Regions from separate parts of the Homo sapiens genome. Here all the other regions are linked to region 1. Evidence: promoter capture Hi-C in 16 types of primary human blood cells and fetal thymus (Javierre and others, 2016). All regions are on one chromosome and are shown on one strand. Each heading gives the region's core, a stretch centred on a gene start or on the middle of the fragment in contact. The rest is flanking DNA. Distances are from core to core; before and after follow the strand shown.

Evidence for each region. Contacts are between HindIII fragments. The CHiCAGO score rates a contact against its expected background, and 5 or more counts as called.
Region 2: a fragment that was not itself captured here is called in contact with the fragment with the promoter of LINC02880 in region 1 in 7 of 17 cell types (total B cells, megakaryocytes, naive B cells and 4 more); the score reaches 10.0 in total B cells.
Region 3: a contact is called between a fragment that was not itself captured here and the fragment with the promoter of LINC02880 in region 1, in 1 of 17 cell types (total B cells). The highest score is 5.1, in total B cells.
Region 4: a fragment that was not itself captured here is called in contact with the fragment with the promoter of LINC02880 in region 1 in 2 of 17 cell types (erythroblasts and megakaryocytes); the score reaches 5.8 in erythroblasts.
Region 5: a contact is called between a fragment that was not itself captured here and the fragment with the promoter of LINC02880 in region 1, in 5 of 17 cell types (neutrophils, megakaryocytes, fetal thymus and 2 more). The highest score is 9.6, in neutrophils.
Region 6: a fragment that was not itself captured here is called in contact with the fragment with the promoter of LINC02880 in region 1 in 9 of 17 cell types (neutrophils, M1 macrophages, fetal thymus and 6 more); the score reaches 9.5 in neutrophils.
Region 7: a contact is called between a fragment that was not itself captured here and the fragment with the promoter of LINC02880 in region 1, in 11 of 17 cell types (naive B cells, M2 macrophages, total B cells and 8 more). The highest score is 19.7, in naive B cells.

Annotation. Positions count from the first base shown.
Region 1 is chr6:113,902,660-113,906,805 of GRCh38, forward strand. LINC02880 (long intergenic non-protein coding RNA 2880) reads left to right here and starts at 1,728. Exons shown (of 4, transcript NR_027060.1): 1 at 1,728-2,085. The HindIII fragment of the contact is 3,143 bases long and covers 1-2,198 here.
Region 2 is chr6:112,308,652-112,312,797 of GRCh38, forward strand. No RefSeq gene overlaps it. Among named protein-coding and RNA genes, the nearest start is that of RFPL4B, 37 kb to the right of the region's middle. The HindIII fragment of the contact is 1,172 bases long and covers 1,209-2,380 here.
Region 3 is chr6:112,348,610-112,352,755 of GRCh38, forward strand. RFPL4B (ret finger protein like 4B) reads left to right here. Exons shown (of 3, transcript NM_001013734.3): 2 at 584-712; 3 at 995-2,685. The coding sequence starts at 1,100. The coding sequence ends at 1,891. Among named protein-coding and RNA genes, the nearest start is that of RFPL4B, 3.4 kb to the left of the region's middle. The HindIII fragment of the contact is 209 bases long and covers 1,912-2,120 here.
Region 4 is chr6:112,492,921-112,497,066 of GRCh38, forward strand. No RefSeq gene overlaps it. Among named protein-coding and RNA genes, the nearest start is that of RFPL4B, 150 kb to the left of the region's middle. The HindIII fragment of the contact is 710 bases long and covers 2,050-2,759 here.
Region 5 is chr6:112,731,373-112,735,518 of GRCh38, forward strand. All of the region lies in intron 2 of LOC105377949 (a long non-coding RNA gene), which reads left to right. It overlaps LOC107986634 (a long non-coding RNA gene), which reads right to left. Exons shown (of 6, transcript XR_001744303.1): 3 at 481-563; 4 at 225-339. Among named protein-coding and RNA genes, the nearest start is that of RFPL4B, 390 kb to the left of the region's middle. The HindIII fragment of the contact is 3,035 bases long and covers 323-3,357 here.
Region 6 is chr6:112,747,882-112,752,027 of GRCh38, forward strand. All of the region lies in intron 5 of LOC105377949 (a long non-coding RNA gene), which reads left to right. All of the region lies in intron 2 of LOC107986634 (a long non-coding RNA gene), which reads right to left. Among named protein-coding and RNA genes, the nearest start is that of RFPL4B, 400 kb to the left of the region's middle. The HindIII fragment of the contact is 2,563 bases long and covers 1,123-3,685 here.
Region 7 is chr6:112,765,063-112,769,208 of GRCh38, forward strand. The region is part of intron 5 of LOC105377949 (a long non-coding RNA gene); the gene reads left to right. The region is part of intron 2 of LOC107986634 (a long non-coding RNA gene); the gene reads right to left. Among named protein-coding and RNA genes, the nearest start is that of RFPL4B, 420 kb to the left of the region's middle. The HindIII fragment of the contact is 2,264 bases long and covers 1,183-3,446 here.

The sequences.
Region 1 (4,146 bases), core at 478-2,977:
GGAGCATTATCTGTGTGTTAGGGATGATCATTGCTAACAGGTTGTTCTTTGTTTCTAGGCCTTTTCAGGGAACAAAGCTAGGAGATTAGGGGTAGGTTAATGAATGGATCTGTAGATAGATAGATAGATAGATAGATAGATAGATAGATAGATAGATAGATAGATAATGTAGATAAAACATCATATTTATAATTGAATGTTTCCAATTCAAAGTCTGATTCAGGACTATAGGGCTTTTATTTGACCCCACTTAAATTTACATCTCTTTTCAACCTAAATTTCTGGTTCCCAACAACACCTACATATTACTCACTTGTTTTATACTGGGAAACATATACAATAGTCTCAGAATAATAATAGGAAAACTTTCCATGACGATGTAATTACTGGAAACATTTGAAGTTTGTGTCTGTGTGTGTGTGTGTGTGTGTGTTTTTGCAGTTCCTTTTGTTCTAAGGGTATATCCCACTTGAGGTCTACAGTCAATTCCCAGGTTTTAATGTCACTTGAAATACTTTCTCCCAAGAGGATGTGCCACCAACTCAATATCTAGTTAGGTTTGACTTTTTTCATTTTGTTTTGAGTTTTAACGATTATATCTTAATATTTATCAACTATATATTTTGGAAATCTTTTCATACTTGCATGTAGAGATATTCTTCTTCTTTTTTTTACAGCTGTGTACTACTGCATTGTGTGAATGTACCATAGTTGAGGGTCCCCTATTGATGGACATTTGAGTTTTTTCTAATACACAAATTGTGCTGTGATAGGTGGCCTTGTGAATACATCTTTCCATTTCTGTCAGTGCATCTTTGGGATAAATTAGAAACTGTAATGCTAAATCAAAAGTAGCCAGTAGAATGTCTTTTTGCTTGAATAATCATAATATTTATCCTGTGCTCTAAGGGTGAAATGATGCCACCTCTTCCCCAAGTGCAGGGAATGAAGAGATGAGCCTTTGGCCCCTGATATGTCAACAATTATCTCTCCTAGAAGACCAACTGAGCTCTCTTACCAGTAGACTTTCTGGAAGAACATCCAAACATGTCCTGATAGAAACAAAGCCAGATCTTGTCTCAGAAGAAAAAAAAAAAAATAGGGGCAAAAATATTCTACACAGATCACAAAAGTTTTCTTAGGAAACCATGCTCCCCCTGGACAGCTCCCCAGGAAGGTAACCCTTGGCGTTGATCTTGCGATTGGAAGGGTGTTCATTTTTTAATTATGCTGACAGACATTCAGTGAGAACTGTACTTCCCGAGGGCTAGTGAGCAGGGGGAGGTTTTCCCTGTTGTGCTCAGGCAGGACGTTCCAGGGATCTGGGGAGGCCCTGACATAACTGCACGTTCACACGGCTGCCCCTCCCTCCTCCTCCCTCTGTCTTCTCCAAAACAAATGACCTCGCTGGGATCCTGTTTGCCTTTTACTGACTTCCTGGACCAAAGCAGTGTGCCTGTGAGTGCAACAGCTGATCCCTTTCGGAGTGGAGTTTCCTAGCTGGTGCCTGTCCTCTCTTGAGCCTTTGTTTCTTGAGTGAGCACTCACTGGGGCTGTGGCTCCATGAACTGGATTTCAGGAAACCAGCCAAGGCATTCTCTCTCTCTCTCCATTCCTAGAAAGGCAGAAAGCCTGGGAATGGGTTCGGCAGGAAGATCTCTGTACCTCAATCTCCATTGCTTTCAGCACCACTGGCTTTCTCCCCAGCTCAAGTGCAAAACCTGCCATCGTTGCTACCTGGGGTGCCTCAGACTCACCCAAGTCCCCCAGGCCAGAGGACATGCTCTCAAGCCTTGTTTCAGAAAGAGGGACCCAAAGGCTGTTAGGGAAGAGAACCAGGGTCCTCAAACCCAGGGTTTTCTCACCCACTGCCTCTGCTCTGGCTGTGGCCTGCCAGACCTCTCCTCTGATTTTCGCTTTCCTTCCTGCCAGTGCCTTTGTTTATCCGAGGCGCCAAGATCCCACTGTGAAGTCTGAAAGGAAGACCAGTGGTTCTCGCTTTTCCTCTAGATGCTGTGTCTCCCAATGTCATCTTCTTTCCTCTCAAAGACAATTGGACGTTGTTACAGATTTTCTTGGAATGAGGTGAGTGGACGTTGTTTTTCCCTAGGAATGTTCTCCTGTGCTTCAGAGACATATTTAGAAGGGCATAAGAACAAGAGGAATTAGTGTGGGTCCCTGCCACTGGCACCCCTCCAAGCTTGGCTTTACCCCTTCATGTCAACACCATTTCCTCCCAGGCTTTTCACAGCTTTACAGCCCATCTCAAGTCTTTAACTGCTAAGTGAGCTTTAAAGAAAAGAAAAATCTTCAAAGGCTCCACCAAAGGAAAGAACGGGGCACCTCACATTCGGCCTAAGACAGGAGTGAAAAGACAGGAGATTTGACATTCGCATGGCTGTTCTCTATCCCACCCACTTACAACTTTATACTTATCCTCCCGAAGTCTCAATCCAGCTTCAATTTTATCTGAAAAGGGTCATTTGGGATACAAAAAGCTGCTCCTCCAATGCCACCAAACAACTGCTGGTGCCCTCTATTAACCATCTGAGAAAGCCTAAACATCTCTCCAGCACAAGTAGACCAGGAATTCCCAGCCCCCATCCCATATAAAATCCAAACGATGACAGTAATTGAATGACACAGTGTATTCAATAACCCCACCGTACCTTCCTTCTCACTTCCAGGGGTGATCACATTGACATCTCACCTCATCCGTGGGCTGCCCACAGCCTGGCTATGTCCAGGACTTCTGGTCTCTCTCTCTCTCTCTCTCTAAAAGATAGGGTCTCGTTATGTTGCCCAGGATAGATGTGAACTCCTGGGCTCAAGCGACCCTCTCCTCTCAGCCTCCCAAGGAGTTGTGACTACAGTCTCACACCACCATGCCCAGCTAAGCTCACTGCACATGTCAATGTCTTATCTCCCGGCCCTTCCCTTCTTCCGTTTGTCCTCCCCTCCCCTGTTCTCACTATTCACCTTTCCTTCAGTTGCCCACCTACTTCCATGTTCGGAGGCCAGTGCTCTTTGGATCTGACATGTTGTGTGTGGGTCCCAATGGTTCATAGAAGGCCAGAGGGTCAGACACTTCTGCTCAGTAAGGGGAAGGATGAGAGGATCCATCTTGATCCTTCCCATCAAGGGCTATGGCAACAATTTGTACAAAGAAACCCAAAATAAAGCAACTCCCAAGAGGAGGGAAAAAAGAAGGTAGCTCCAATTTGCTTCAATGTGGGAGAATGCGATGAACAAAGACCTACTAGTGGGAAGCTGAGAAACTCTGTGAGGGCTCCTGACTTGGAGCAGGATGGGTGGATTGCGGGGAGAGTGACCTTGCCCCTGGCCTAGTAGGGCACTATGAGCTGAGGAAAATGGCCATGAGGCTTTGTCTGGCCTAGGTTTCTCAGAATTATAATGGTTTTCATTCCTTACAAGGGAAGTCTAAAATTGGGAAAAGAGAAGCAAAGAGATGCTGTCTAAATCCTAAACGTTAGCAAGAGTTTTCTGGTCTAGAAACTGTGACTCAGATGTGGTAGAGATGAGATGGATATGTGGCCGTGGTTGCATCCACCGGAAGATGCAGCCACAGGACCAGGGACAGAAGGCCTCACATGGAGGGCCCAAGGACAGCAGGCCTCACGGAGGACCCAGGGACAGCAGGTCTCACGTGGAGGACCCAAGGACAGCAGGCCTCACGTGGAGGACCCAGGGACAGCAGGTCTCACATGGAGGACCCAGGGACAGCAGGCCTCATGTGGAGGGCCCAGGGACAGCAGGCCTCACGTGGAGGGGCTACGGACAGCAGGCCTCATGTGGAGGGCCCCAGCCCCTGTCTAGAAGGAGGCAGGTGGGGAATGACACCTGCATCATAAGAAGCTTCTGTCTTGTTAAAAGCAAAGACAGAAAGAAGGACAGGAAGACAATCACGTAGTCATTGTATATAAGGTTTTTTCAGTCTTCACCTGTTCCAGTTATACTTTGCAGCCTGAAAAGTCATTCCAAAACATAGTAGCTTACACTTTGGGAGGCCGAGGTGAGAGGCTTACTGGAGCCCAGGAGTTTGAGACCAGCTTGGGCAAAATAGCGAGAACCCCTCTCTACAAAAAAATTAAAAACTAAAAAAATTAGCCAACTGTGGTGGTGCAT
Region 2 (4,146 bases), core at 545-3,044, 1.6 Mb before region 1:
AATTATCTCTAGAGCAATTCCCCAGTGAGGGACAAAGAAATGTGATGCAATAATGTCAGCTGGGGTCAGCCAGAGATGTGGCCAAATTTCTCAAGGAGCTTCCAGTGTCAAGAGCTGCTTCATGGAGGGAGCATGTTGGAGAAGGTGAAGCATGGTGGAGCCACAGACAAGCAGAGGGGGCTGTGCAGGAGAGGTCTGCAACCTCACTGTCCTGCCCCAATACTCAAGGAATAGCTCAGGGAAGAGGGAGGAAAGGGAAAGCATGTGATAAAGACTACACCCCTGGCTAGGGAAAGGGAAAGGAAGTTTTGAATGAGATACAACATGCAATCTAAATGAAACAAAGAGACTAAGAAAACATGGAATAGGGCTCAGGTGTTGTTAGGGAGGATTTGATCTGGGATTATTGGGGACAGTTATTGGAAGAAAATAAAATTTGTATTTATAGCTGAATGAATTGAGACTCTTTAATACCACCTCCCTGATTATAGTCCACTGTTCTTTCTGCCATATGGTGCTTTACCGCTGACGTTCTCTAAATGTCTTCACTCTCATAACCTCATCCTGTTCATAGCATCTTGAATATTTGATCCTACACCTCAATTTTACAAACTCTTGGAATTTGTGTCAAATCTTGCCTCTTCCCAGAAGTCTTCCTTAATAACCCCAGGTCCACATTCCTCCCTGTCTTTCCCCCATTGCCCTCCACCATTTCAGCATTTTCTAGAATCCATCCTTGCTTTTCATTCCAATCTTCCACGCCCTAGTTCAGGATCCCATCCAATCCTCCTTCTGCATGGTTGCCACACACTGCCTGAGGACAACTGGCTGAGGCCCTGCTGCATTTGGCAAGCCACCTGCTCTGAAACAGGGTGGTGTCAACCCAGAGGGGCACCATTTTCTCAATTGCCCAAGGGCTGTCTTAGTTCACCAGGTGTGCATGGGGTCCTGTAGGCTCAGAGGGAGTGTCTTTTCCTAAGTTGCACGAAGGTGACACTGTATTTCCTAACCACCTCGATCCCACCCCAGTCTCTTCTCATTTCAAGTTGTCCTATACATAGCTGACATTAATTTTTTTTTAAACTCAAGCAAATCTCCTTTTCTACGTAAAAGCCACACTCTAGGGCATCATCAATATCATGTGTATTGGGAACTGTCGAAGGGCTAGGATGAAACAGCCTGGATGTGGACTGTGAAGAGAAATAAAAAGCTTCCTAGCACCACGAATCTCAAACCTTCATGTGCACACAAATCACTATTGGATCTCATTAAAATGAAGATTCTGATTCAGAAGGTCTGAGTGAGACCTGAGATTCTGAATTTCTAGCAAGTGCCCAGGTGATGCTGAAGATGTTAGTCCAAGGACAACACTGTAAGTAGCAGTAAGTAACATTTAATTTAATACACTGTGAGTAGCATTTAATTTTCACAAAAATCCCTATAGGGTTATTATTATTATTATTGTTATTATTGCAATTTTTTAGAGACAAGTTCTTGCTCTCTTACCCAGGCTGCAATACAGTGGTATGATCCTGGGCTCAAGCTATCTGCCCTCCTGAGTAATTGGGACTATGAGTGGGCACCACCATGCCACCATGCCTGGCTAATTTTTTTATTTTTAATTTTTTGTAAAGATGGGGTCTCCCCGTGTTGCCCAGGATGGTCTTGAACTCCTGGGTTCAAGCAATTCATCTGCCTTGACCTCTCGAAGTGCTGGGATTATGGGAATAGGGATTTAAATTCATGTCTGCCTGATTGAAGACTCCTTTTTAGCCACTATGGTGTATTCCCTCTAGAAGGACTGGAGAGGAGAGAATGGACTTGAGGGAAGAATTTCATTCAGGAAGTAAAACAAGAAAACTTGGGGATGGGTTGGCCTTGATCTTCTCAGTGGAGTTGGTGAGAAGGTCACTTAGCTCTGGTGGTGGGAATGAAAGGCCTAAGTGATCTGGGGGAATTGGGGCTAGCTGCAGAGGGCCATGTGCTGGAGGAAGAGCAAAAAGGGCTGCCAGTAGAAGGGAGCGCCCAGATAAAGCTGGGAGGATTGAACTTGCCAAAGCACTAAATCAGTGGTTTCCAAACTTCACAGTAGAATCACTTGGGGATCTTTTAAAAGTTCAGGTTATTCCCCAGGCCAATTAAGTCACAATCTCAGGCAAGGACACAAACATCAATAATTTTTGAAGCTACCCAGTAATTCCAAAGTACAGATTATTTTGGGAACCAGTGCTGCAGATGATTAGGTTATAGTGTTAAAGGGGCAAATCTTGCATTATTTTAAATAACCCAAGGAGCATTGAATAATGGTTTTGGCATTTTGCATAGTTCGGAGTTTGGCAAACTTTTTCTGTATTAAGTCAAATGGAAAAAAAAAAAATTAAGCTTTGTGGGCCAAGAGGCAAAATTGAGAGTATCATGTAAGTACTTACATAATAGGAGAAGAAAACAGATTTCCACAAAATTTTTATTGATGAAATTTGAAACTTTATGAATACTGAACTTGGAATTTTATATAATTTTATGTGTTATAAAATGTTAGAATTCTTTTGATTTTTGCAGTCATTTAAAAATGTAAAAATAATTCTCAGCTTTCAGGCCGTACAAAAACAGGCAGTGGCTGGGTTTGGCCCCCACTATGTTATAATTTGCTGACTCCTAGTGTAGTTAGTGATATACCTTGTGATGAATCCAAAGAAGCCATCAAAAATATGCATCTCCATAAAAATAAATCAGCATTCAAATGAGTGCTTGATTGACCTACAACAAAACTGGCCTTTGAAAAAAATCATTGCATTTTCTATGGACAAAGTGCAAAATGAATGACAACACTTTGAGGCAAAGGCTACTTTAACTCATATTTCCATAATAAATAAAAAAATAGCTGGTTGAAAACATGGATGACCTACACAGAGTCTACTATATAGAGTACTGTTTTCTGTAAATAACTCAAAATACTTTCAAAATATCTTTTAAAAGTATAAATAGTATTTTGATTTATTTTGAAACCATTTTGGTGTTTCACCAGATGTCAGTTCTCCTCAAGGCCTCAAATTATTAAAGATTCCTAGCTGTTGAGTACAGCTCCCTTGCGTTTGTAATGTCTACATTTGGATACCAGGATTATAGGTTAAAAAAATGGCAATTTTCTGGAAATGTTGTTTATGTAATCAGGTGGATAATCTGAAATACTTTAGAGAGGCTATAGAAATCCCTCTACTGTCTTTGGGCATTTTACATCCAGAACCTTCTGAATTATTGCATTAATAACTTCAATAGTTTCTGATTAGCAAAAAGCACAGTGAGGAAAACAAAATTAAAGAGAAAAAGGAATTTTAGCACCTGCAGGTCTAAATATTGTATTTGTAATTTATTTACTAATGGATAGTTGTTTTTTTTTTCTCTTATGTATAGAAAATTTCGAATGGAACCAGAGGTTACCAGAAACGTGCCCCATTTGTAGTTTCTCTGCTTTGAGAATTTGCCAGGCGTTGAGGGGAGCCCTCTGCTGTTAGTTTTATTTATTACAGTAAAATTTGAATTACATTTGTTTTATGCCCTTCCTTGAACCTTCTCAGGTTTTTGATGTTTCTGTTATGATTGTACATTTTACATAACAAAGAAAACATAAATTCCACGATGCCAGTTGGCATAGTTAATAATCCATCAATTCTGCCCTTTTTGAACTATATCAGAGCATTGAAAAATCTGGCGGTTTCCAATTTCCATGTTAGAGTAGGGTTTTGACCTCTATTTCACTTTCAAATGGGTCTCCTTGGCAGAATAACTCGGCTTTCTCGATTAATTTTACTGTTCACCCCCTTAACAGTGAATATGGAGGTTTAAACCTGATGCTTTAGAAGGTAATTGTACAGTTTTCGGAGAGTCAGAGGAAACTGACTCTCCCCTGCTCCTTAATTGCCCTTGTTACATTCTCTCATCCACTAACTGTGAATGCTCCTTGAATCTTACTTCTAGGACCTCTAATTTTGTTGTTGTCATTGTTGTTATTTTTACATTTGTTGCATCTGTGGACTCATCTATTGTCACAATCCTAGTTATAATGTCTAAATTAGTAACCTCTTAAGCTGTGTTGTCTTGGAGACTAGGCAGGAAACAAACATTTATTGGGTGCCTGCTACTTGAGCA
Region 3 (4,146 bases), core at 766-3,265, 1.6 Mb before region 1:
TAAGGAGTTCTGCTAGTTACTGCTCAGTGCAGGCTCTTATTGGAGAACAGTCCTCTGTTCACATAATCTCAAAGGTGCTGTCCAGCTTTGCGAGGCTGTCTTTGGGTCATGGGTCTAGCCTGGTCCAATATGCTGTGCCCAGCATGTCAGAGACAGCTCACTCAAAGAATAATAGCCATGGTGGGAAGTCCTCTGGGAGCACCAGAGGCTCTCAAGCTTTGGGAGCAGTTGGGGTAACAGGAGGGCATCTTCCTTGTCTGGAACATCTTTTTGGTTTGTATTCAGGCATGATTATTTTGGAGAAGTTGATGACTATTATATTTTTATTCACATTAATTCAAGCCTTAATTAGTTTTCTTAGAGTGCTTTAAAGCATTTCATCTAATAACACTTTGTCCTTAAACTTGATTCTTTTATGGGCTTCTCATTTTGCAGTGGATTTTGCTGGCTTTACTCACATGTGGTAATTTTCCTGGAAATTCTGAGGATTCCTTAGAGTCACTTTTCTGTGATGATTAATGTAGAATTGGCTTTATTTTCATTATTGAATTTAGACATGAACATTCTTTTTCCTGAACTGCAGAGGATCTACAAAGAAATACTGAGTGGAGACTATACTGAGATTCTGTTAAAGACCCACTTGAATTCAGCCCCCATTAGGAGAAACTTTGGCCGGAGCAGCCAACACATCACCTGGAAGTCTTCAGACTAGGTAAGCTGCACTGTCTGAAAAGAAAGTTTCCACTGTCCTATTTCTGTCTTGTGATTATCTAGAGTTTGAAGAGTTTCGAAATCATTTTTATCACCATGACTACATTACTGTGATTCTCTAGCAATTTAGTGTCACTTTCATACACAAACTGCAGAAATATTATTTTTTTGTTATTCTTAATTTCTTAGTTAATAAATTTATTATTATTTATTAAATAATATAATTCATTTATGTATGCCAATAACTTATTTATTAATTTATATTATTTAATCTTGGATTTAGACTATTGAAGAGTGGATTGTGTACTGAGGGCTCCCAAGTGCTTCCAGAAGCCAATAAAGGATCACTTCAGTTTACTTCACGGCTAAGGAGTAACCCTTAAGAACCATGGCCAAACGCCTGCAAGCAGAGTTGTCCTGTCCAGTTTGCCTGGATTTTTTCTCCTGTTCCATTTCTCTCTCTTGTACACACGTGTTCTGCTTTGATTGCATCCAGAGGTATATACTAGAAAACCATGATTTTAGAGCGATGTGCCCCTTGTGTCGAGACGTGGTGAAGGTACCTGCTTTGGAAGAATGGCAAGTGAGCGTCCTAACACTTATGACCAAGCAGCACAATAGCCGACTTGAGCAAAGTCTGCACGTGAGGGAGGAGCTCCGGCATTTTCGGGAGGATGTGACCCTGGATGCAGCCACTGCCAGCTCCCTCCTTGTCTTCTCCAATGATCTAAGAAGCGCTCAGTGTAAGAAGATCCACCACGATCTGACAAAAGATCCCAGGCTGGCCTGTGTCCTGGGTACTCCCTGCTTCTCCTCCGGCCAACATTACTGGGAGGTTGAAGTGGGAGAGGTGAAGTCATGGTCCCTGGGCGTCTGCAAGGAGCCGGCTGACAGAAAGAGCAATGATTTATTCCCTGAGCATGGCTTCTGGATCAGCATGAAGGCAGGAGCAATCCATGCTAACACCCACCTGGAGAGAATTCCTGCAAGCCCTCGCCTTCGCCGTGTGGGAATTTTCCTGGATGCTGACTTAGAAGAAATCCAGTTTTTTGATGTTGACAATAATGTCCTCATCTATACACATGATGGTTTCTTCTCTTTGGAGCTTTTGTGTCCATTCTTCTGTCTTGAGCTCTTGGGAGAAGGGGAGAGTGGCAACGTCCTGACCATCTGCCCATGAGAAAGTCAGCCCTTCCTAGAAGCTTTCTGAGAGGTGAAAGAGAATTTTGGCCTGAGAAAGGTCAGCATGATTGAGGAAGAGATAATGTGCTATAGTGCAAAGACTTGGTAAATTTTTAAAGTAGATTTTGTAGACTTTGTAGCAAAACAATTTTCGGATTTTTGGGGTAAATTTTGTGGAATTTGTAGCTAGGTAACTGGGGTCTTTAGGGATGTTATTAAGTACTGTAAGCTTCAGTTTTCTAGTCTGTAGATGCGGATAATTGTATCTCAGTCAAACAGCTGTGGTAATTAGAGACAATACTATGCCTTTGTCTTATAGTAAATAACAAATAGAGAAATCTTAGATTGTAAGTAAGCTAGATATTAGGTTTTGTGGATAGACAATATCTTTTTCATTATTTCAAGCTGTTTTGTGTAATTCCTGATAATGTCTGAGGAGGAAGAAAAATTCAACAGCCAGTGTGAGTTATTTTGTTGATACAGCATGAAATTTCAGAGAGACAAACTGATATTGGGGAAGAACTAAGTTTTTCATTTTTATTTTCTTTGAAACACAGCCACATAAGTTTTCTTGAAAGACAAAGAACTTTGACCAAAATGCATTGTTAATGGTGATTCATATTCTTATGGGAAGTGTCATTTACCCATCTCAATAATTGGACTATTGTGATTTATAAGAATTCTTATCAACCATGTTAACTAACACATATTCATCAAAAATTGTTTTCAAGGTTGCTTTTGGATTTTTTATTTGTAGAATTTATTTTCTTGCAAATAAATTTATAAAGCATTGGATGTGTTCATGTTTATGCTGTTTGGTCCGTCTCTCACATACAGTCTGAAGTTGGTACCCCTCTTCCTCCACCACAGCTACATGGTCCCAGACTGTGATTTCCAATATGTCATCCTTATACACTCATGATGGCTCCTTTTCAAAATATTCAGGTCTCTTAGGGTTGTATTTTTTCTGATTTACTGAGTCAGCCACTTCTGAGATTACAACTGCCCCAAAAGGGCTGGGGTCTGAGCATGTTCTGGAATCTGCCTTTGACTTCCTTTCTAGAGAGACCCAGAATTGTCATTTCCCTTCTCTTTCCAACTTCACTGGGAGTAGGGAGATAGCCATTTTCCTCTCTTTATTCTCTTTTGATCTCTACAACTTTATTTCAGGGGACTCATTGCCCTTCCCTAACACTGGGCAAAATTTCAGGATACAAAATAAATGTACAAAAATCACTAGCATTCTTATATGCCAACAGGAGTCAAGCTGACAGCCAAATCAGGAATGAACTCCCATTCACAATTGCCACAAAAAGAATAAAATACCTAGGAATGTAGCTAACTAAGGGAGGTGAAAGATCTCTACAAGAACTATAAACCACTGTTCAAAGAAATCAGAGATGACACAAACAAATGGAGAAACATTCCATGGTCATTAAAAGGAAGAATCGATATTGTTAAAATGGCCATACTGTCCAAAGCAATTTATAGATTCAATGCTATTCCTATTAAACTACCATTGAGACTCCTCACAGGACTAGACAAAACTATTTTGAAATTCATATGGAACCAAAAAAGAACCTGAATAGCCAAGGCTATTTTTTAGCCAAAGCTAAGCAAAAGGAACAAAGCTGGAGACATCACAAGGCTACAGTAGTATAGTTTGTATCAATACCAAAACAGCATGGTATTGGTACAAAAACAGACATATAGACCAATGGAACAGATTAGAAAACCCAGAAACAAGACCACATACCCACAACTATTTGATCTTTGACAAACCTGACAAAAGCAAGCAATGGAGAAAGGATTCCTTTTTCAATAAATAGTGCTGGGATAACCGGCTAGCCATATGCAGAAGATTGAAACCAGACCCATTCCTTACACCACATACAAAAATCAACTCAAGATAGATGAAAGATTTAAATGTAAAACCCCAAACCATAAAAACCCTGGAAGACAACCTAGGCAACACCATTCAGGACATAGGCATGGGCAAAGAGTTCATGACAAAGATGGCAATTGCAGCAAAAGCAAAAATGGACAAATGGGATCAAATTAAACTAAAGAACTTCTGCACAGCAAAAGAAACTATCAACAGATTGAACAGGCAACCTAAAGAATGACAGCAAAATTTTGCAAACTATGCATGTGACAAAGGTCTAATATCCAGCATCTATAAGGAACTTAAGTGTACAAGAAAAAAACCAAACAACCTCATTAAAAAGTGGCAAAGGACACTAACAGAAGTTT
Region 4 (4,146 bases), core at 1,155-3,654, 1.4 Mb before region 1:
TTTGTACTATTTCATAACATTTTTTATGTCTGAAATCATTTAGAAATTAAAATTAATGATAAAAATTATAGATAAAAATGTTACAATTGTGAAGGTGCTTACTATTAAAATTATATTTCACTATGGGTAGTGATTGAGAATATAGGTTGGGGCATCAGAATTCAGGGGTTTGAATCCCAGCTCCATTACGTAGTAGTAGTATAAATTTCAAATTAATTAATCTCTAGGTACTTCAGTTTTCTCATCTGTAAAATGGAGAAAACAGTGCTTTCTACCTTTCAGTGTGGTTGTGAATATTGAATGAATGAATGTACGTAACGTGCTTGGAAAAGTGCCAGGTTCCATAAATGTTTGTGAGAATTATGAAAATTATTTGGATGGTTACAGCTGTTATGTATGGAATAATATTAGAATGAAATACAATACTGTAAATTCTATCTCTAGGTGAGATACTAAATGTAAAGCCAACTATTTGTCAGCTATGCAGAAGCTTAGACAAATTATTGGTCAAGAAAGAAGCAAGTAGATGCAATGTTTGAATGTTTGACATTGCCCCAGGAGGGCACGTGAGTAGACACAATTAGAAGGTCAGGGAAACCTGTTAATGAGACATTTTTAGGAGATTTGAACTCCTGGCAAGCTAAGTCCCTATTAGCTAAAGATAGAGTGTATCTGAGAAATAATGTGATGTAGAAGAAATGACTTTCTATTCAGCATATAGGCCCAAGAAAAGTTTAAATTTTATTTCTTGAAAATGTTAGTTTTCACATGTGAATCCATTATAAACCATTGCAGTGCAGCATGAAGAGGGGAGAATGTAGTTAAGATTAGCATTAGAAACCTAGTATTCCAACAGAGCAAGGCCTGCAGGAATGGGAGAAGAGTTTCAAACAATGTAAGTTATTACCTATAGAATGATATGTTGTGGAAAAATTGGACTTTGTATCATAAAATCTAGTTGGTCTGATGCAGTGTAGCTCAATGTACACAACTTCTACCCTGTAAATTTGCGATTAAGCCCAGCTGTGGTATCTTGGACTCACCAAATTTTATATTTTCCAATTTTGTTCATTCTATGAACTCAGAACTTCTCTAAGAAACTCTGAAATGAAGCATTAGGCTATGAAATTAATATAATGAAGACTTGATTTTGACAAAGTATAAGATTATATCATTGCAACTGAATAGATTTCTGACTTTATTTCTTAATTTCAGACTATCATCCTCATCTATTTTTCAAAGATAGTTGAGACTAATCATGACTGTCTTCATCAGGGTCCAACCAGGAAACAGGAATTGCTAAATATTACAAACAGAGGAAAGAATCTCAAGACATCACTCTACTTCTAGGGGCAGAGGGACACAGAGAGAAGGTGGTATTAGCAGAACCCAGGACTAAGGATTTTCTCTTGTAATAAACGACACAGGACCATCAAGGTAGGTGGTATCTGGCAGGGAGCTAGAATCATGTAAAATGGTGCTTGATGAATGGAAAAAAGATGGAGAAACACTCTATTTCTCTTCCCCTTCTACCCTTAGTCTTCCACCATTGTCTCTGGTGGCCAAACATGGCAGAAAGCCAGTTAGTGAGGGAACCTGGAAAACTTAGTTTGCAGGTAAAGGGCAGGAACAGATCTGTGTGCAAACAGGCAATGACCACCATAATGCCTCTGTCCATGCCTAAAACAGAGATGGAAACCGAGTCTCTGCTCTGGAACAGGCAGTGTTCAGGAGAAGCTTTTCCATCTAGATGCTATTTCTTTAATTTTTCAGAGCAAGTCTGTGAAGTTGTTATTATTATTTCAATTTTGTAGATGAGGAGACAGAATCTTGAAGGAGTTCTGGTCTCTGTTTAAAGTTTCAGAGCCAGAAAGGAACAGAGGCCACCTGGTTCTACACATACTCATTTTTCTTTTTTCTGTGTCTGTTCAACACTTGAAAGCTTGCTTGATATTATGCTGAGACTGTAGAGTTTAAAACTCTGGAGCTAAAAGAGACAACAGAATTCATCCAATCTGACTTTAAAGATGCAGAAACTGAGGACTGGAAAGCTTTGCTTAACACATATCTTGACCAGAATAGGAACTATAACTTAAAGTTTCCGTAAGACACTGAGTAATTACATCAATATTTAACATGAATGGCATCTGTCTTCTTGTTCTCTACTCAGTCATTGAGGATCTCAGTGGGGAATGGGATGAAGAGCTCAGGTGGAAGGGATTTGCCTTGAAGAGGAGGATGCCTGTCGTGCATGTTCTACTCTATTTTTTTATGAAGTACGGATCTATGCTATCCACAGGGTTGAGAGGGAAGGAAGACATTAGGAGCATGCTATAAGTTTGGACTGTCTGCTGAGAGAATGGAAAGTGAATGTGCCTAGGAATGAATACAATGAAGTGAATACATAGTGGAGCATTGAAGACTCACCTGGGCGTGAATGGAAGCAATGTGAGATGGTACTAATCAGCAAGACTATTTTTTTTTCAGTAGTGCTCATGGTTCTGGAGAAGAAATAGAAAAGTGAGTCCTTAAACTGATCCCACATTGTAGAAGGGTCTGGCAAGCGAGGCCTACTGGTTAGAGAGCAAGCAAACCGAGAGCTTTCATAACACAGGCAAGAGGGAATCGATGGATCCTGGGAAGGATAGTATCACAGGATAAAGGAAGGACTCCATGAAGTTTAAATTTAGAGTTAATGAGAGAAAAATATTGGAAGGAATGAATGGACAGAAAGTTCTGATCAGAAAATGTGATTTCTAAGCTTGAGCTTTCAGGACCATGTGGTTCAATACAATAGCCACTGGTCACATATGGCTACTCCAAACTGGGATGAGCTGTAAGTGTAAAATATAGCCCAGATTTTGAAAACTTAGAATGAAAAAAAGAATGCAAAATGTGTTACTATTTTAAATATTTATTCCATATTGAAATGATAATATATGGGATATATTGGGCTAAATAAAATGTTATTAAAATTAATTTCACCTGCTGCTTTTTAAAATGTGGCTACTGGAAAAGTTAAAATTATACATGAGGCTTGCATTACACTTATATTGGATAGCACTGTTTTAGCAGTTGTATAGTTACAAATCAAAACAGAGCTTTTCAAAATGTGATCTTCAATCATTTAATTGATATTTAGGGCATAAACGACCAATATTTTAAAATAGCTAGAAAAATTATCATGGTATAAAAATTAAAGAGTAAACAACATTTTAATATGTGTTAATGAAAGTGATCATGGCTTAATTTAAGAGGAAGAAATTTTCCTAGTTTTTCACTGAATTCATGATACAAAACTCATTTGCAGATAGATTAATACATTGATTAGGAAACACATTCAATAGTTTTCTATTCTTAGTCTTTATATATTTGTATTAAATTAGTCATGAGTTGGCAATATGGAAATAATTAGTTGGTGACTGTCAAATAGTGCTGAATAATCAGCTTGTCCCGAAACTCAGGGAGATTTCTGTTTAAAACCACTTCCAGTGTTGTTGACAAACATTTCCCACTCAAAGTAGAAGTCAAAAGATAAATGCAAATGGATTTCTAATCCATTTTTTAGTCGCAATTATCTCTAGAAATTTTATTGCCTTTTTATAGAATTTGAATGTGGTTTTAAAATAAAACTCTTACATAGAGTGTCAAAAGATCTTTGGCAAGGGTGCCAATAGGGAGAGGTTAGTCTCTTCAATAAAAGTGCTGGAAAACCTGGATAATACATGTGTAAAAGAATAAAGCTGAACCATTATTTTATACCATATACAACAATTAAAATGGATTAAAGATCTAAACACAAGACCTGAAACTATGCAACTCCTGGAAGAAAACATAGTGGAAAAACTTCATGACATGAGATTTGACAATGATTTCTTGGACATGAAACCAAAAGCACAGACAACAAAAGCAAAAATAGAGAGATGGGACCACACGCAACTTAAAAAACTTCTGTAGATTAAAAGAAACAGTCAACAGAGTAAGATGGCAACCTACAGGATGGGAGAAAATATTTAGAAAACACACATGTGATATGGGCTTGGGTTAGTATCTAGAATATATAAAGAACTACAACTCAACAAAAAAATCTAACATCCAGTTGAAAAAATGGGCAAAGGACTTGAATAGACATTTTATCCAATAAAA
Region 5 (4,146 bases), core at 590-3,089, 1.2 Mb before region 1:
TGTGTAAGTATGCTCTATGGTGGTCACAGGCCAATGAATTACCTAACAATGCATTTCTCAGAATGTATCCCCATCATGAAACAATACATGACTCTATATGAATATACTAGGTTTGGTGGAAAATTTTGCTTTATAGGAGGTATTATTTAGGGTCTTTTCTAAACTGTTTTTCAGAAGACACTCCACAAAATTTATAAATAAAATAGAATGGTTTTCTCTCTTACCTAATAGTCCAGGGTGGCAGGTAGACGTTTCTCCACAAGGCCATCTAGGGACTCAAATGTGTGATGCATTTCTGCCGCTACTGCCACAAATGCTGTGAAGCTTCCATCTCTGGGTCTAGAGAATTTATTCCAGTAAATTTCTTTACAGGATGAAAGATATCTCACCAGCACAAGGGAGGTGGGAAGAGAACATGGAAGTCAAGCACCTTTTTAAAAGATTTGAAATGGAAGCTGTGCACATGACTGTGGATCATACCTCTCATTCACGGCCACATACAGCTGCAAGTCTCTACGCTTATGGCCATACAGCTCAGCCAAAAGGGGTGTATGTGGGAAGTTCTGTTAATAAAAAGAGGAAGGGGAGAATAAATAATAGTAGGGGACAATAACATTCAATTTAATATATACATTGAATCAAGGAATACTTCACCACAATAACCACTAAAAGATACACACACACGCACACATACCCACACACACTACTCCTATCGATGTCTATCTATATAAGATATATATATATTATATCATATATATAATATATATCTTAGCTGAAAGTAAAGGGAAATATCCTAAAGCACTGCTCAGTTCTGTGAATACCCTAAGCACTTTTTATAGACATAGAGAGGATCTCAGAAGACTAAGACTAGCATGATGTTTAAAAGGCAAACCAAATATATGGAACTAGAATAAAAACTTATTTTGAAAAGACACAGCTAAATATTCTCGTGTAAACTTTTTGAGGCTGTTTTAGTGAGGGTTACTGTTTGTATACAGCAAACTCTAACTGCACCTAGCACATGAAAACTAATTAGACTTATTAAAAGACTCTCCAGGGCTTGTAGACGTAACAGCACCTTGGACTACAGGTTTGAAAATAGGCATACGTTAAGAAGACAGTTTCAGATTGAGATATAAGAAATACAGCAACCATCTTCACCAGGAGAAACATGGCTAGCTAGGATGATGTCTCCACTGTTGTGGGACTATTACAAATGAATTACAACTTTCACTTTGTCTTTGGCTTATTCTCTCCAGATATAAAGTCTTAGGTGGGAGTATATGATTAGCTAAGACTTCATCACATGTCCTGTACTCTGGTTGCCTCTGTAACAAAAGTGGGGCAATTTCTCTTGCCAACACTACACATAATGGAGACTCCCCCAAAACTCAGAAGGGAGGTAAGATGCAAATTAAACAATTTTTAAGTCTACTACAGATCCTGGCAAAGGCTTTCTAGTTTGATTTTATAGCCAGTGGTGATCTGCCTCCAAATCCTATCTATCTTGAATTATGGCTTATGCAGGTTTAATAAGTCACCTCTTACTAGTTTAATTCAGGAGCCTCTTCTCTTGTCTTGGACATTTTTGGTAATTAAGCCTACTCTTTCTACTTGAAACAACCATACTCATGTTTCAGGACTTTATCTCCCTCTGATTCTGCCTTCTCTGGTTGTTCTCTATCAGACTTTCATTTATTTCTCTATTTTCAAAAAACTGATTTTCTCTAGAAATTCAGTCTTTGCTTCTTTTTTCTTCTGAATTTCATACTATGAGCAACACCATTCACTTTTTACTTTCCACATTTAACACATATATAAATAAATTCCAAATCAACATACTTCCTGCTTGGCCTCTCTCCTCGTAAGATACAGATTGGAATTAAATGCTTACACCAAGAACTTCACATGCCCATAACCAAACTAAATATGTTCTCACAAATTGTTTTTTTCCTCTTAATCTCTATCTTTATGAAAAAACACTATTTTTAATTGATGCAAACAGTTATTGAATCTTCTCTTTCTCTTCCTCAATCTCATAACCCCCATGAACATCCTTTTGGTTGTCAAGATCTATTAATTCTACGCTTAAGTCTTGCTTCTTTCTCTCTGCTCTTTTCTACCCTTACCCTCCCTGTCTTAGCTTAGGCCCTACATATTGTGTCTTTTAATGAACTGATGATGGCCTATGGGTCAGTTATGTCATACCATATTTGTCTCCTTGGTGTTTAGTGCTTGGGATATAGTATCATTATCGAATTGAAACATTTTAAAATTCCATTGTAAAGGAGAAACGGTCTTGTATATATGACTAAATATATGTGCATCTGTGCCTACATTCACTATAATCATTATGACTTAGATAAGATGTAAAATAGATTTAATGACTAAAATATATGAACAATATATGGCAATTTATATGTGAATTACTGTTTGAAGTATATGTGAAAATATCAGTGGGACATTTTAAAATCTTCTGTACACACTCATGTGTTCAATATTGAGCCAGTATATGAATGAGTCAGAGTAGCTGTGGCTTCTTGAGCTGGTTGCTCAGCTATTCCTGTGCTTTCCTTCTTTTACGTTTCTTTGTTCCACTTTATTTTACCCCAGTTTTAAACTCTTGATAATTAAGTATGCAATACAGAGTTCAAAATCTAAGTTACATTTTCTGTGGATATTTTAAATTAATAATGGGAATGGAAATGTATCACTCAATACACCTCTAATTTCAGTATTTTATTTTTTTAAAGTTAGCATTTGCAACTATTAAATCACTGTTAGTTCATTAAGATTAACCTTTCCAAAAACAATTAGCTCATTTCATATTAGTCCATTTTTATACTGCTATGAAGAAATAACTGAGACTGGGTAATGTATGAAGAAAAAGAGGTTTAATGGACTCACAGTTCCACATGGCTGGGGAGGCCTCACAATCATGACAGAAGGCAAAGGAGGAGCAAAGGCACGTCTTACATGGTGGCAGGCAAGAGAGTGTGTGCAGGGGAACTACCCTTTATAAAACCATCAGATCTCATGAGCTGTATTCACTATCATTAGAATAGCATGAGGAAAACCCGCCCCCATGATTAAATTAACTCCCATGTGGTCTCTCCCATGACATGTGGGGATTATGGGAGCTACAATTCAAGATGAGATTTGGGTGGGACATAGCCAAACTGTATCAGAGTGCAATGACAATTTTTGTACAGTAAGCTGGATAGAGGTTACCTGGGGCTTGGTAAAAAAAAAAAAAAAAAGCCATGGTTTATTTATATTAAATAATTTTAATAAAGTAACATACACATAATTAGGAAGGTATTACACACTAAATTTATATGCAATTTTTTAAATTAAAGCTTTCCGTCAGTTTTCATTCATGATCACAGCTTTCTCTTTTTAAATAATGGATGTTATATCTGAAGTGACTACATACAATTCCTAATCAGGACTTTCATTTTGCTTTCTTAAAATTGTAAAAGACCGTGATTGATAAGCCATACGGTTCAGGCCAGGAGGTGATAAATAATGTAAAATCATTTATTAAAGCATTAAACATTTTACAATTGGGATTACACTTAAAGAATATAAAACTCTCCATTTTTTATTGATAAAAGTAATGTTGAAATTTTTCAAAACACAAATGGATTTCAAATTCAATAGTACCTTTAAAAAATTTAAAATACTTTATTTCCAGCTTCATTGAGATACAACTAAAGTACAATAAACCACATATCTATGAAGTATACAACCTGATAAGGTTTTTATATATGTATACACCAATAAAACTATCACTACTATTAAGAAAATGGACATATCAATGACCGTAAGTCCTATTTATACATCTTTATGACCCATCTCTCTTTCCTCCATGTCTTCAGGCAACCACTAATTTACTTTCTGTTTCTACAGATTAGGTTTCATTGTCTAAAATAAAATCATACAGTTTTCTCTCACTCAGCATAATTAGAGATTGATTCTTCTTGTTTAATCTGTTAATCATTTATTACTTTTATTGCTGAGTAGCATTCTATAGCAGGAGTATATTTTCTTTATACATTCACCTGTCAATGTACATATAGATTATTTCTAGGTTTTTGCATACCACATATAAAATTGTTATAAACATTCATTTACATATCTTTG
Region 6 (4,146 bases), core at 1,154-3,653, 1.2 Mb before region 1:
AAATGCTGTCATACAAAAGAAAGACTCATTACATCAACTCATATTTCATTCGCCAAAAAAAGTCAAATTGACCATCTATATCTAAATGTGTTTGAGAAGTGCAATTCTCTTATGGAAGGCAAAGGAGTACTGGAAAATTTGGTGAACAACAATTATATCTACTACATGTTAAAAGAAAGAGTTAATTCGAATGTGCAATTTAAAAAGTCAGCTTGCAAGATATTTAACAGCTTAACATTACTATTTTGAAAAAAATGCGGGATTTTTATATTATATGTATATATATACTCACACACACATATATACACATACACATATATATCCACACGTATATGTGTGTATGTATGTTTGTATGTAGGTATGTGACATTATATTCACTCTACTGGTAACTTCTCAATGATTTATCACCCACTCTACTGATACCTAGAACTCATAAGGATCTCAGTAAACTGGTTTAATCAAATACTATAGTTGGGAACATTTTAAAATATTTTTTCTTTATGATTTTATAAAACATCCTTAATCTCTATTTAGAATTTGAATCACTTGAATGTGGCAGAATGACTTAATTTCTCCCCCTGTAGTTTCATCTTCACTAATGAGAAGTCATTTTCACTTCTCTTAGCAAAAGGACAAGGCAGGAACTTTCCTTCCTGAAACCCAAGGCTTTAAGTCTTCCAGAAAAATATAAAGACACATCTGTTTTCCTAGCTTTTAGAGAAGAGGAGTTGGATTATTCAAGAGAGGAAAAGGTGTGCCTCAACACTGAGAGGAGGAGCTTAAACTCAAGTCTTGGGAGCCATGGTGGTTTTTCTTTGCTGAGATATACAGCAGGGATTGGAGGCTGTGAGCAACAGACCACCATGCCTTAGAATGCACAACATGGACTTGGACAAAGATGATCTCAGCATCAAAAATGATGGACTAAAGACCAGAGCCCCTTGCTTCATTTTCTTAGGAGAGTATGTCTCCTAAAACCTTCTGTAGGGATCTCTATGTCATATATTACACATTTCATCATAGAGAGACAAAAATTTTTACTTGATAAAAAAAAATAAAGTAATTGGATACTTTTTATGAGAAATTGTAAAGGAGCAAATGCATAGCATTGCAAAATGAGCAAGCTTAGTTCTTTGTGTGAATGTAGTTTTCCAGAACTTGTGTGTATGCTATTAGTAAGTAGAGTTTGTAAGTCATTTTACTAGCCTGTGTTCTAACTCTTCTCAACTATTTCCAAGAAGTGAGACATTTTAAATCTCTTTGAATTTATTTAGATTTTAGTTGTCTTCTAAACAGCAGCAATATGTGTGTGTGTGGGGGGGTCAATTTCAATTTTTTTTTTTTTCTAACTGTATTGTAGTGATTTAAGGAAGCACCTTCAATGCATATGAATAATGAAGTTCTAAAAAGCACTGTTATTGCTGCACAAAGGGAAACATTGAGGACTAGAAGAATTAGGGAATTGGGATAGACTCTGGCTGCATCTAATGATGTGGAGAACTGGTGCTGTTCCTTGATGATCAACTTAGTATAAATAAAAGCCTTGCTCAGATTTGATGATGATGCTACTTTCTATTCCTTTTTCCTCAGGCCCCTCATTGGAGACTTTCCGTAGTTCAACTGCAGAATTTATTCTTTATTTTATTAATGGGAAAGGAATAGTTTTTAGGCCTGTAATTTCTAATGTGATTCATTATAGGACTAGGAAGATTGGGCTTCATGAAGACTGGTCTGGCATTGATCAATTCTTAACCATCAAAGAGACTTGATTCTCCAGGTATATCTGAGTGCCATTCTGAAGTGTAAACCACAGACAGTCTCCTTGGGATGTATGAAACCATCACAAGGACAGAGGTGAAAACTGAGAAATAATTCATTCAGCCAACAAATATGTATTCACAAACTACTTATTCAGAATGATGTGGCTGCTAAGGACATGATAGTGAATAATATAACGCAGATCCTATATCCATTGGGCTATGTTTTAGTTGCTTTTGTGGGGAGAAACAGTAAACACGTAAAATTTTATAGATACGTTTTATGAGAGTGAGTTGACAGATGTATTAGTCAGGGTTCTCTAGCGGGACAGAACTAATAGCATATATGTCTATTAGTATGCTATTGGTATATATGACATATATATGGAGAATTGACTCGCACTATCACAAGGTGAATTCCCATGATCAGCCTTTTGCAAGTTGAGGAGCAAGGAAGCCAGTAGTAGCTCAGTCCCAAACCTCAAAAGTAGGGAAGCCAACAGTGCAGCCTTCAGTCTGTGACCAAAGGCCCCAAGAGCCCCTGGCAAACCACTGGTGTAAGTCCAAGAGTCCAAAAGCCAAAGAACTTGGAGTCTGACATTTGGGGCAAGAAACATCCAGCACGGTAGAAAGATGGAGGCCAATTGGATTGTGCCCACCCACATTGTTAGTGGGTCTTCCTGAGGGTGAATCTTCCTCTCCCAGTCAACTGACTCAAATGTCAGTCTCTTCTGGCAACACCCAGAAACACCCATATAGACCCTGAAACAATACTTTGTGTCCTTCAATCCAATCAAATTGACACAATATTATTTTAATATTAGTGAAAGTGAGATGTATTGGGTAGAGATCAGATAAGGAAGCTCACCTAGCCTTGACTTTGCTAAATAGCTGTGTGATCTGAAGAACTTAGCTTAGCTTGGATGAATATTTCTTATCTATAAAATGAGAGAGCTTGGCAACATGATCTGTACAGGTACTTCTCTTCTAAGACCATGTAAGTCCAATCTTAAACAAATTAAGTTAATATATGTAAATCTCTTAGAACAAAGTTTGGAGGAATGTAAGCGCTTTCAGAGTTTCAGTTATGATATGAAAATGATTATAATTTTCCTTTTAATCTGTATTCCTTTCCCTGTCTTGCATAGTTTTAATGTAAAGTAGACCATTCTTCCTGAAACTCCCAAAGATGTTATCTGTGAGATAATAACAGAAATATAATTAGCTCTTATTAAGTATGTTGAAATTAGCCAAGGACTTTTAGAAAATCATTGAAAGGATTTTTTTTTAAATAAGGGTTAATTCTTTCTCAATGATACCTGTAAGTGTATAAATGATCAGATTTTAGGTGGGTTAAAAATTTCTCATTTCATTGTTGCATATTTTGTGTCTAGTATAATGTGCAGTAGGTCAAATGTTAATAAACTAAGTTTTGATATCTCAAATATAACTGTGCTATGTATAGTAATATAACGTTTATTGAATGACTATTATTCTGGGGGAAGATCCTTTGTCCTGTGTTTAGCCTTTTGTGATTTTAACACAATTTTAGCACATTTTAAATGAACAATTTTCTTTTTTTCTTTTTTTTTGAGACAGAGTCTCGCTCTGTTGCCAAGGTTGGAGTGCAGTGGCGTGATCTCGGCTCACTGTAAGCTCTGCCTCCCGGGTTCACGCCATTCTCCTGCCTCAGCCTCCTGAGTAGCTGGGACTACAGGCGCCCACCACCATGCCCGGCTAATTTTTTGTATTTTTCGTAGAGACTGGATGTCACCGTGTTAGCCAGGGTGGTCTCGATCTCCTGACCTCATGATCCACCCACCTCGGCCTCCCAAAGTGATATTTTTAACAATAATAAATAATAATAGAATAATAGTACAAATCTACCATAGATTTAGTGTTAAATATGTACCAGAATAGTACTAAGAAGCTTACTCACATTATCTCATTAATCCTGGAAGTTGTTATTGTGTTAGTTTTACAGACTCTGAGATGATTTACTAATTAAAAACCTGACCAAGGTAGCAGAGCTGGGAAAGAGAAAGACCAAGCTCCTGGGAATAATTAATGCGCTGCACTGTGCCTCTATTCTGATGACCAGAATAAAACTGTCTTGTTTAGGTGAAATAGCCTTTCAAAGCACTGTTTTATTAAAAATGCAAATATTTAAATTTCTACATCTGTATTCATAAATTAGATACTTCTCTAATTTTTAATAAGCTTTTTATTTTAGCATAGTTTTAAATTCTAGTTTTAGATGGAGAAGTTAACAAAAATTATACAGAGATTTCTCATACACCCAACACTGTTTCCCCTATTGTTAACACCTTACATTATTATTATGGTACATTAGTCACAGCTAATAAACCAATATAAACACATTATGATT
Region 7 (4,146 bases), core at 1,065-3,564, 1.1 Mb before region 1:
TTTCCAGTTTTATTCCAAGAGGAAGAGAGACAAGAGGCCAAGTTCCCCTTAAGAAGGCAAATGTCTCTTTTCTTCCTGTGGATTTCCAGATAAACCCTCTGAGGTATATTTGCATTGAGAAATGCAGTGCATTGTATGTTGCTAGGATGCAGCAATTATTAAAGTAATTACTAAAGTGGTATCTACATAAAGTAAATTTGGATGATGTTTAAAACTCAAATGCACACTTTGTGATATTGTGTATAATACAGCTTGTTTGTAGACAGACTACTCCTTTGCTAATGATATTGAAAAAGAACCTTCTTTACTTTGTTTTGCCTTTAGAAATAGATAAGTCCTTCTAGTTGAAAACTAGTTATCATTTTATCTTGTGAATAGTTTAACAGGATAATTATTAATAGTAGGAAGAAGAAAATTGTGACTTTTAATATGTAAAAGATATTTAATATATGTATACAAATTAGTTCATGGTATCCCAGTCCTAAAACAAAAAATCCAACTAGCCTCTAATGGCTTTGTGGTTGTACATAGTCATTTATTATGACTGCTGAATTCACTTTCACATTTTGAATCACTTTAAACACCTTCCTCAAATATTTTTGCTAATGTCATTTCCCTTATAGGAATTTTGTTTTTCCCTGTCCTATCATGTTACCCTATACTAAATTAAACCCTAGGCTATTATGGGAAAAAATAATTCTCCATTCTATTTAGAGAACAGACCCAGATACGTCTTACATCATATTTACATATCAGATAAATTTATTATTATTTCACATATATAGATCCAAGAGAAGTTCCTGGAGGTCCTTTGCTTTTCAAAATAAACAGTGCTTTATGGGTGTGAAGGAAAAACTAATTAATATAGTCTTCTAGCAACTTCTTAGAGAAGTGGAGTTATCCTTCTTTTGAAAAATAGTGCCCTGCCTTTTAATGAATGAAATGAGAATAAAAGCATGGCAAGAGACAACGATGGTTCACAATAATAGAGGAGAAATTTGGAAATAGTAAATGTGGTAGACTAAACATGGCTACAAATTGCTTGCTGCTCTTCCCATCAAGAAGTAAAGTCTAATTGCCCCTTCCTTGAATCTTAGCTGGCTTTAATGAGTTCTTTGACTGATAGAATATAGCAATAATAATGTTCTGGAACTTCTGTGGCTATGTTAGAAAAAGCCTTGAAGCTTCCACCTTGGTCTTGGAAGTTCTCTCTGGGAGTCTGGACCTGCATGTAAGAAGTCCAAGTACCCTGAGACCAACCACTTAAGGAGGTCATGTTAAGGTGCCCTGGTTAATATTCTTAGCTGAGTTTGGTGTTTGAGCCATCACCATCAAGATGCTAGTCATATGAGTAAAGACATCTTGTTCCCTCCAGACCATACCTAAACAAGTTGAAAACTACAAAGGGATACTCATAAACAACACAGGAATCACTCAGCTAACTCCTGCTCAAAGTTCTAATGCACACGAATTCTAAGGTAAAATAGTTATTGCTTTAAGCCACTGGGTTGTAGGATCTTTTCTTATGCAGCGACAGATACCTAGAATAGACTACCAGAAACCAGAGTTGGTCTTGAACAGGGTAGGTCTCTTTGTGTGACTGACACCTCAACCTTTTTTCTTTTGACCTTCCATCTTCTGGGTGTTGTCTGGCATTGTTTCCAACAATTGGGAAATACTAGTATCTAGATATAATAATTTGAATGGCAGATAAAAGGTAGGAGCTAGAATGGCTTGTTAAGCACTATTACATAATAATGTTATCATTTGATATTCTATTTATTTTAAGTTCTGGTCTCCTTATGCCCTTAACAGTTCTTTTGAAAGCCAAAGCCATTGCTCTGCCCCTCGAGTGGGTGGATGAGTCTGCTTGACTGTCAGACTTCATGGATAAACTGGCTGAAACCACATAATGTTCGCTCACTCATTACCTTTCTCCTTGTTAAGCCTTTCTGATGGGTGTGCACTGAATTCAGAAAACTGCTAAAATCATGTTAGACACAGAGAAGATGCAACCAACTTTGGATGATGTACAGAAAAGAGTTAACATAGCAGGCCTGGCCGGGCGTGGTGGCTCATGCCTGTAATCCCAGCACTTTGGGAGGCTGAGGCGGGTGGATCGCAAGGTCAGGAGATCAAGACCATCCTGGCTAACACAGTGAAACCCCCCTCTACTAAAAGTACAAAAAATTAGCTGGGCATGGTGGCAGGCGCCTGTAGTCCCAGTTACTTGGGAGGCTGAGGCAGGAGAATGGTGTGAACCTGGGAGGTGGAGCTTGCAGTGAGCCAAGATTGCGCCACTGCACTCCAGCCTGGGTGACAGAGCGAGACTCCGTCTCAAAAAAAAAAAAAAGAAAAAAACAAAACAACAACAAAAAAAACATAGCAGGCCTGAGATTGCTATCATTAGAAAGTAGGGTTGACTGTTGGCTGATTTTAGGATTGTATATTTTTGGGACAATTCCTACCGTTCTGTAATTGATAAGAGGGGTTCTCCATGCCTAAATAGTTTTTTACAAACATGTGATTTGTGTCAAACACCTACTTTTCTTCTGCAAGTCTGGGATTTTGGTATGTGCTAAGAAGTGGATGTCTATGTGATCAGCCCCCAATAAAAACTTTGGACACTGAGTCTCTAATAGCTTCCCTAATCAGCAATATTTCATATGGGTTGTCACAATTTGATGATGGAGGAATTAAGCATGTCCTGTCTGACTCCATTGGGAGAGAACTATTGGAAACTTGTGCCTGGTCTCCTCCAGACTTGGCCCCATGTGCCTTTTTCCTTTGTTGATAATACTTTGCATCTTTTCACTGTAATCAGTCATAGCCATAAGTATGACTACATGCTAAGTCCTGAGTCCTTTGGGTCCTCCTGGTGACTCATGGACGTGTGGTGGTTTCAGAGACCCCAGACAGGGATAGCAAGTGAGCCAAAGGAGAATTACACACACACACACACACACACACACACACACACACACACCCCACAGAGGCATGCATGCATGCACACACACCACAGGCACATGCACACATGCACACACCAGTGTTCCAATTGAGACTTTCCTACTAAAAAATTTTTAAATTTTTAATGAAAGAGGATTTGGATTTTCATTAAATAATACTGGTAACATGAATGTTATAATTATTTATATGCTTGCTTAACGTCACTACCTCCACCTCCTGTCTGCTTCTCCTCAGTCCACTTCAGTGAGGCTTGTTCCCAGTCACTCTGACAAAACGGCTCTCTCTCAGCTCCACTTTGCCAATTGTCACTTTTTTCTTTCATCTTACTTGTTCCTTCAGCTGCATTTCCCACAGTTGAGCTCTCTCCTTGAAACACTTTCTTCTCTTGGCTTTTGAAATACCAATATTTCCTGATTTTTATCTGACCTTTATATCCACTCCTTTTCACTGTCCTTTGGTAATTTTGCCGCGTATTTCCAAGCTTCAGATATTGGAACGACTTGGTTATGAGCTGCCTTCTGTTTTTTATTTAAATGCTCTTCCCAGTTTCATTTCTAGTGTCTTGGCTTTAAATATCATACATAAAATGATAATCCTCAAATTTACTCTCCAGAATTGTAACCTCCCTTGAGCTCCAGATTCTTACATGAAACCACTTAGTCAGGATCTCTGCTTAGAAGCATAAAGCCCTTTCAAACGTAGAATGTTTAAATCACAACTCCTGATTCTTTGTACCAATCCTTCTGTCCCTGTCCGAACCTTCTCCTCCCCACCCCTTTCTGTCTTGATAAAGGCCACTACATTTAATATCTTCTCTATCCCAGAAGCTGGAAGCAACTTTTATTTCTAGTAATCAAGCTTCCACTCAAGAACATTACCAGATAGTTTTTTTTGGCTCTGATGGGGTTTATGCATTTATATTGTATGCTAGTGACTCCTGATAGAAACTTTTTAAAAATTCACGCTTTTAAACTTTCATGAGGGCACAGCTTTTTTGAGAATTTGATAACTATAGACTCAGTAAAAATACACATAAACCACCTAAACAAAAAGTGTGCATGTAATTTCAAATGAAATATGTATGTGTGTATGTATATACCTATACATAGATATAATTTTAAATGAATACATAAAATTTTAAATGTATTAAAATGAAACGTGAAAACGGTTACAGTTATA